Regions from separate parts of the Homo sapiens genome. Here region 1 is linked to region 2. Evidence: promoter capture Hi-C in human tissues and cell types (Jung and others, 2019). All regions are on one chromosome and are shown on one strand. The core of a region is centred on a gene start or on the middle of the fragment in contact, and the rest is flanking DNA. Distances in the headings are between cores, read along the strand shown. Region 1 has its middle 36 kb from the start of NOS2. Region 2 holds the start of SLC13A2 (solute carrier family 13 member 2).

Region 1 (4,134 bases), core at 409-2,908, 640 kb before region 2:
GCTTGCAGGACTGGAAGTTGCTCTGAGTGAATCGGTAGGTGAGTGGTGAGTGAAGATGAAGGCCTAGGACATTATTGTACACTACTGTAGATTTACTGTACATTTAGATGACACTAAATTCATTTAGAATTCCTTTCTTCAATAATAAATTAACCTTGGCTTACTATAACTTTTTTACTTTATAAACTTTTTAATTTTTAAAAAACTTTTTGACTCATAATAACACAGCTTAAAACACAAATACATTGCACAGCTATACAAAAATATTTTGTCTCTATTCTTATAAGCTTTTCTTGTTAATTCTTGTTTTTTTTTTTACTTTTTAAACTGTTTTATTAGAAACTAAGGCACACCACACATTAGCTTAGGCCTACACAGTGTCAGGATCATCAATATCACAACTGCCTTCCATCTCCACATCTTGTCCCACTGGAAGGTCTTTGGGGGAACAATGTGCATGGAGCTGTCATCTCCTGTGATAACATACCTTCCTCTGGAATACCTCCTGAAGGACCTGCCTGAGGCTATTTTATAGTTCACTTAAAAAAATAAGTACAAGGAGTATACTCTGAAATAACAGTAAAAAGTATATTGTCATATTCACATAGTCAATAAAAATGATAGTTATTTGTTTACATATGTATAGGAAATACACAAACCAGTAACATAGTCATTGTATTATCATTATCAAGTATTATATACCTTACATAACTGTCTGTGAGATATTTTTGTACAACTGCAGCACGGTAGGTTTGTCTACACCAGCATCACCACAAACATGAGTAATGCATTGCACTTGGATGCCAAGATGGCTATGACCACACCCAGACCTGCAACGCTGCAGGTATTAAGACCAGAGGTGTCTCCCTACTGATCCCAGCAAGTCCATTTGTGTGAAAACAGACAGGGAGCTGCCAGAAGTTCAAATGTAGGATTTCAAGTGCCCAGCCAAGTCATTGGCTCCCAGAATACATAATGAAAACCAACAACAAACAAATCGAAACAGCTCAGAAGCAAAGCAAAGTGCTATTGGAAAAGCAGCACCAGTGCTTTTGTGAGATTCAGAGATATAATCCCTGCCACCTCCAAAAAGAAGCAATAAGAACAATTATGTAAGATTCTTTAGGGCAAGGACTGAGATAGAGCAGGGACCCCTCATAGGAGCCTGTAGGCCCCTCCCTGCAACATGGAAATAAAGGAAAAGAGTTTCTTCAAGGGAAACTCCAGGCACCTAGCTAGCCCTGAGAAGAAAATGAGTGACCTGATCATTAAGAAGGTAATAGTAGCTTAAAACTATAACCAAGGAAGTTAGAGTCACAAGATGTTCCCTGTAGAACATTATATTTATCCCTTTATCCCTAACGATAACGTCTTAACATACGTTTCTCTGAGTTGTTTTTCAGGTACCTGGACCCCTACCAAATGGATCCACTAGCACACAGGCCTCAGATAAGGGGGAACTGCGGATTGAACTCTGACCACTCCTCTTTCTTCTGAAGTTCTTCCTGAGGGACCTGGAGGAAATCATACCCACAAACCAGAGCTTACATTCTTTTCTACTGACCCCAAATTTTTAGACAAAGCTTTGCTTCCTTAACCAATTGCAAATCAGAAAATCTTTGAATCTTTGAATGCTTTGAGACATCCCCCCTTTTTAGGTCAAAGCAATATATAGCCTCCATGTATTAATATGTAGTTGTGCCTGTAACCTCTGCCTCCCTGCCTTAAAAAACCCTTAACAAGCCATCGGGGAAGCCAGGTCTTAAGCATGAGCTGCTGGATTCTCCTTGCTGGGCACTCGCAAATAAACATCCTCCTTTCTCCCACTGCAAACCTTGGTGTAGATGTTTGGACTTACTGTGCCAGGTGAGTGGTCAGTGGATCCCAAGTGGATTCAGTAACAATTAGTTGGCAACTACAAAGGGGCGAAAGTCCCAACCGGTGGCCTTGCCCATGGCACACCAGCCCCTGGCTGCAGCCACCCTTGGACCCTGTCCGGCAGTTGGCTGAATTATTTTGCTCAGGGATGGATCCATGCATTTTATGCTTGACCAGGTGTCATGGGCCATGGCATTTTTACTTTTGTAGCATTAAAAATAAGGCACTGGGCTTGGAAGATGTCCTTCGTAAGTGGTAGGTTTGTGGGCAACAGCCCCAAGGTATTTTTTTCTTTGGACACTGGGTTCTGCTTTGGCAGGACAACTGACTTTGCTTTGGCAAGGCCCTGGGCCCTGCTTTCTTAGAGTATTTGGTTTGATTGGGGATACTCACTAGAGAGCTGAAGGGATCCAGAACTTGAGAAACCATATTTGGTTTTGACTTGCTGAAAACAGACTTGCTTGAAACTCTATCTGAAGCCTGGCTGAGGCAGCAAGGTTTTCATCACCTATGGTTTTGTCATCTAAAATGGGAAACACAAGCTCTATTCTACCTTGCAGCCCATTAGGGTGTATTCTGCAGAACTGGGCCATTTTTAGCTTTCAGCCCATGAAAAAGAAAAAGTTTTTTTTTTTTTTAATTGTAGTACTGCTTGGCTGCAATATTCTTTAGACTCTGGAGGAAAATGGCCTGAAAAGGGGTCCTTTAAATTGGACTCCTAAATTCAAAAAATAATTTTAGAGATCTCTTTTTCTAAACAGTTGATGGGAAAATCAAATTTTAAAAAGGAAATGCAATAGCGTCATGGCTAGCCTTAAGAATTCTCTTGACTAAATTAAAGAACAAAAATATAACCTAAAACAAAGTTAAAAAATATTGCAAGCTAAAAACTACATGACTTAGATCTTCTCCAGGAATAACAGCAAAGACCATTCCATACTGTAGTCTAGCAGCTAAAGTTCCACCATTTCACTACAGCAGCTTGGGTTCAGTCAGGGAACTGAAACCACCTTTGCAAAAATTATATCAATGAGAAAATTATGACAGTGAAAGAGATCTGATCTAACCCACCCTCCTCTTTCATTTCCTTTAATCATTCCTGGGTTTAGGCCTAGCTAACTTTGGAAGACACTTAGGTTATAGGCCTTCCCCAGAGTTCAACCACCTTTGTAAAGCTAATAAGAGACCCTCAGTCTAGGGGGAGGAGAGAAGCCCAAATTCTGCTAAGGCATAGACATAAATGACTGTCAGCCATTATTCCAGGGGTCCTGCAAATAGCATCACTATTGTAGAACCTAAGATTGGCCTTTTTATATATCTTTTCAGGCTTTTTGCATGTCTTCTATCCATGGCTCCACCTAGACCTGCCAACTCCATTCCTGTGGCCCCACCCAGAAGCAACTCAGCTCAAGAGCCTTTGAAAATCCCCTAACCTACTAGCCTGAGATGAGATTGATTTGAGTGCTAACTCAATCTCCTGCATGGCATGGCCAGCCTCATGTCAATTAAACTCTTTCTTTGCTGCAATGCTGTGGTCTTTATTTGTGCAGTGGGCAGGAAGAACCCAATGGAAAATTACAGAACAAGTCTTATTGATTTGATATTCATGTGACTTTTGCAACTTACTGATTCTTTTCCTTTCCAGGAACCGCTTTTGATTTCCTGCCCTCTTCCATCTTAGAGGCATATGGACTTTGGGGGTCTTCGTGTTTAGATTCTCAGCTGAGATTCTAGAGAATATGGCCAAACAGAAATGTGGCTTGTACTCCATTTGTAGCTAGCAAAATTTTTCTTTCTTTGAGCTGTCTTGAGGGTGATTCTGGATCTTGTGAGCACTGATTTTCACCTCTTCGGAGACCTCATGCAACTCTTGGTTGAGTCATGTTAAAAGAAAAACTTTAGCCGAATTAAATTTAAAGGAGTTTAATTGAGCAATGAATGATTCGCAAATTGGGCAGTCCCCAGAATCACACCAGATTCAAAGAGACTCCAGGGATGCCTCATGGTCAGAACAAATTCATAGACCAAAAAGGAGGGAAGTGACATACAGAAATTTGCAAAGGAGAGTCTTTGAAAGACAAAAGGAAGTCCACATAAATTGCTTTGAAACAAAGTCCATAGATCACAGAAGCTCATGACAAGAGTTGGCATTTGTTCATTGGTGGTGACAGCCATTGCCAGCTAAGTGTCCTGGTGTAGCCAGCTCACCTAAAATACTGCAATATTGAGAAAGTTCTTCTGATAAGCTGTTATAGG
Region 2 (4,093 bases), core at 66-2,565:
TAAGACCCACAATTTCTTCCAAACTACAACTTGCTCCGTTCAACATACATACACACACACACGCATGCACTTGCCACCCTCCAGGCCTTCGTTCACTCTTCCCTCTCCTTGTGCCCCTTCCCCTATCACCTCGTGCCAAGTAAGACTGAGCTCTCAAGCCTTCGCTCAGATGCCATCTCTTCCAGGAGCCCTTGCCTGGTGCCTTTCACCCAGAGCTTCTGCCCTGGTTTGGACCTCCCTCAGGATACCCATAATGCATGTGTGAATTCTGGCTGGCTCCATGTCCTTTGGCCTCAGTTCCCCCATCTGTTAAATGGAATAGTAACACCTAACCCATGGTGTAGTTACCGAGTTGATGAAGTACAGTAACTGACTTGTACTAAGTGCTGAGCAAATGTCAGTCTTTACCACCAGCAGCAGCAGCAGCATTTTAATCTCTGTATCTTTAGCACTGAGCACAGGGCTGAATACATAATTGGTACTAAATACTTGCTTGGTGGAGGGATGGATGGATGGATGGTTGGATGGATGGATGGATGGATGGATGGATGATGGATAAATGAGAGATCTAGTATGTTTCCAAAATAAGAGACAATCTTTGCTGGGGGGCGAGGGGGCTAGGAAGAGCCTGAAAGAAACTAACCTTCATCGTACACCTGCCATGCATCAAAGCTCAACATATATAAGTTGTCTAATTTGAGCCTCACAATAGCAAGATATTACTGCAGAATAAGGAAGTGGCTAATTCTGAGAGGTTAAGTCGGTGGATCAGTGTCACACAAGATGTAGTCAGGACCAGGGACTTTGATGGTCCTCGATACCTGGAAGGAGGAGGAGGAGGACTTGCTCCAGGCCTTAGCTACTGTCAATCTTAGACTGAAAATTCCTAGGGCATCTCTGTGGGCAGGGCAGGGCCACCCCACCCAGGCTGTCACATAAAGTGCTCAGCTGAGAACCTAGCTTTGGAGAACAGCAGAAAGGAAAGGCCGGGCCAGCGGAGGTGGCTTGGGGGCTGCCTGTGGAGGGTGGCTGGGGGACTCTCCTTCCTTCTCCAGCTCCTCCAGCACCACCCTCAGCAGCCTCCAAGAACAGAAGGAGTTAACGCTGGGATTAACTTCTTGAAGGAACCTGAAGTTTTTTAATCCTTGTTCTTTCCTCCTTCCTTCTCCCTCTCCCTTCCTGATCTTTACTCCGCCTGTGGGTCCCTCCTCCTTACTCTCACCTCCCCAACTCCAAAAACACTCTGATTGCCAGACTGGGTCAATGGTTAACACTCAACTGGCTTTATATAAGCCTGCCACCTGCCTGCTTGGCTGCATCTTTGGTCCTTCTGTTACCCAGCTCCTGGAGGCAGTGGCTGTAGCAGCCCTTGCTGCTCCACACCATGGCCACCTGCTGGCAGGCCCTGTGGGCCTATCGCTCCTACCTGATCGTGTTCTTCGTGCCCATTCTCCTGCTGCCTCTGCCCATCCTCGTCCCCAGTAAGGTAAGGACTTGGTGTTCTGAGCACAGATAACTCCAGGGGGCAGAGGAGGGACTGTCTGGGCCGGGGTTGGGCATCCTTAGGATCCAGCATAACTTCCTCACTGCCCCTGCCCTGGAAGTGAGGCTATCGCCCCCTGCTCCTCCTGAGGACTGAGGGCTAGGAGGTCAAAGGGGCTTTTGCTTGGCACCCAGTTGTAGGAGCCCAGCGTGAATTACTTAGGTGGGTTTGCAACCTACTGCCCTAGGAAACAGGAAACCAGTTCCATCAACAAGATGCAAGGGGGGCAGATGGAGCTGATCTACCTACTGTGTGCCCACCTAGCCCTGGACTGGGCTCCATGGCGGCTGAGATGGGCTGGCTGTGGGGAGGGGACGGCTGGGTAAGCAGCAGCAGAGTGAAGAGGGTTGGAAGGAGAATAGGAGAAAGCTGGCTGCAGGCGGTCTGCATCTTTAAGAGCATAAACAGGAAGAGAAAGAGTTCACCTGTGGATTCAAGGGCTAAGTCTGTGGAGGAGGAGGGGTGGGAGTTGGAAGAGGGGACCGCTGCAGGTAGACAGCACAAAAACTGTGCCCTGGATGGAGGGGGAGCTGGGCACAACCAGGCGTCACTGCCTCCTCCTCCGCCCCCAGCAGAAGTCATAACTTCATCTCTCATTAAATCAAGCCGCCAATGCCTGCCCTGCCCTAGGCACCCAGTAACCTTTTCCACCATCTTAAGAGGTCAGGCCTGACTGTCCCATTTGACAAATGGGGAAGGTGAGGTTAAGTCACTTAGTCAAAGTCCCAGGGCAGATCCAAGTTTCATGGAACTTGGATATTATACACTTTTGGGCCCCACTCTGTAAGAAAAAGGACACAAAAGTATTAATCTGAAATTAGTTTGGGGCTTTGGGAAGGGTCCAGGGGGAAGGCCTTGAAGTTCAATCTTCAGTCAGTCGGCCTCTGGCAAATCACACAGCTGGGAGGTTCAGAGCTGGGGGTGTGATCTGGTGCCAAAGCATGTCTTCTCTCCACCCTGCTGCCTCCTGCCCCACCCCACACCCCCAGAACTGCCCATCAAGCCATTTTCTTCCTTTTGTCATAGATAGAGAAATTGAGTCAGACTTTTTTGTTCATGGTATCCCAAAGGGGTGAGAGACTGGGGGTGATAGTGGCACAGCCCCTGGGCCCCTGACACCTGGTCAGTAACAAGGCCCAGCTGACCTTTGAGATGACCTTCATCTCAGGCCAAAGCCGGTGGCATCTCAGTGCTAGGGACCCATCAGATGGGTTTTCCGACAGGCTGGGGCAAGTGTGTTAACCCCAGGAGGGAAGCCAGACAGGGATTTTGATTTCTTCCCAATTCCCCTCGACCTGGGGAAGCACAGCACAGAAAGATTCAGTAACTTGCCCAGGTCACACAGGAAATCCTGAGTCAGTGCTAGAAGCCATGCCTGTTGGTGAGACTGGGATGTGTTAGGAGCCCCTGTCTTCTGTGCACCGTATCTGGCCCTGCTACCTGCCTCTGGCTCACAGATGCTGCCAGCCCCATCCTGACTCTGGTCCTGTCTAGGAGAGGCCAGCCCCTCTCAAGGACTTTGCTCCTGCAATTGTCCTCTCACTCTCCTACAAGATAAATATTTCCTCTCTGCCTGATCTCCCCCATCCACATACGGAGGTGCTGTAATATCTCTCATCTTAAACAAACAAGAGCTCTCTTTCAAGGCCACGCTCCTTCCAGGATAGTGCCTCTTTCTCTGCTCTCTCTCATAACAGGAAGTCTCAAGACACTGTCTACACCACAAGCGCACTTTCTCTTTTGTCAGCTCCCATCTCCAAGACTCAGATCCCATCAACTTCCTTGTGACCAAACCCTGGGCCACCCTCACATTCCTCAGTCCCTCGGCAGCATTTGTCACAGCTGTCACCCCGTCTTTGCCGTGCTGTCTTCTCTTGGCTTTGGTGACACCTTCTCCTGGTTCCTGCCCAGCCCTGCCCCTTCCCACCTTTCCTGACTCTGAGGTTCCTTCTCCATCTGACTCTGAGGTTTTCCAGGGTCCCCACTTCCCCTAGCTGATCTTATGCCATCTCGTGCTTTAAAAAGCATCTCTATGCCAATGAGTTATCAATCTGTAACCCCAGCCCTAAACTCTAAACTGGTATTATCCAATGAACACCAGCCATCTCCCTAATTGAATATTTTCTTTGTAAGCAGGATAAGCAGGTTACACTTTTCCACGTCCAAACCAAAACCCTTCCTGCCCTTCTCCAGTTGGCTTAGGCATCAAGAAATGCTTCAACCATCTACCTTGCTGCAACAGCCAAAAACTCGGGGGCATTCTTGATTCTTCTCCTTCCCTCCTTTCCACGTGCAGCAGAAGGTCCTGCTCATTTGATACCCCAAAATACTCTGAATGGAGTCACTCCCCGCCCTCGGATCCACTGTCTCCCCGGTCATTTCCCATGTGTCCCACTCTGCTCAAAACCCTACATTGGCCAGGCGCAGTGGCTCACACCTATAATCCCAGCACTTTGTGAGGACGAGGCGGGAGAATTGCTTGAGCCCAGGAGTTTGAGACCAGCCTGGGCAACATAATGAGACCCCACCTTAATTTGAAAAAACAAACAA

What was found. Contacts are between HindIII fragments. The study calls those that stand out against the background at their distance.
Region 1: a fragment that was not itself captured here is called in contact with the fragment with the promoter of SLC13A2 in region 2 in 2 of the 25 tissues and cell types used here (dorsolateral prefrontal cortex and pancreas).

Annotation. Positions count from the first base shown.
Region 1 is chr17:27,833,965-27,838,098 of GRCh38, forward strand. No RefSeq gene overlaps it. Among named protein-coding and RNA genes, the nearest start is that of NOS2, 36 kb to the left of the region's middle. The HindIII fragment of the contact is 6,535 bases long and covers 1-4,134 here.
Region 2 is chr17:28,472,329-28,476,421 of GRCh38, forward strand. SLC13A2 (solute carrier family 13 member 2) reads left to right here and starts at 1,316. Exons shown (of 12, transcript NM_003984.4): 1 at 1,316-1,486. The coding sequence starts at 1,385. The HindIII fragment of the contact is 27,138 bases long and covers 1-4,093 here.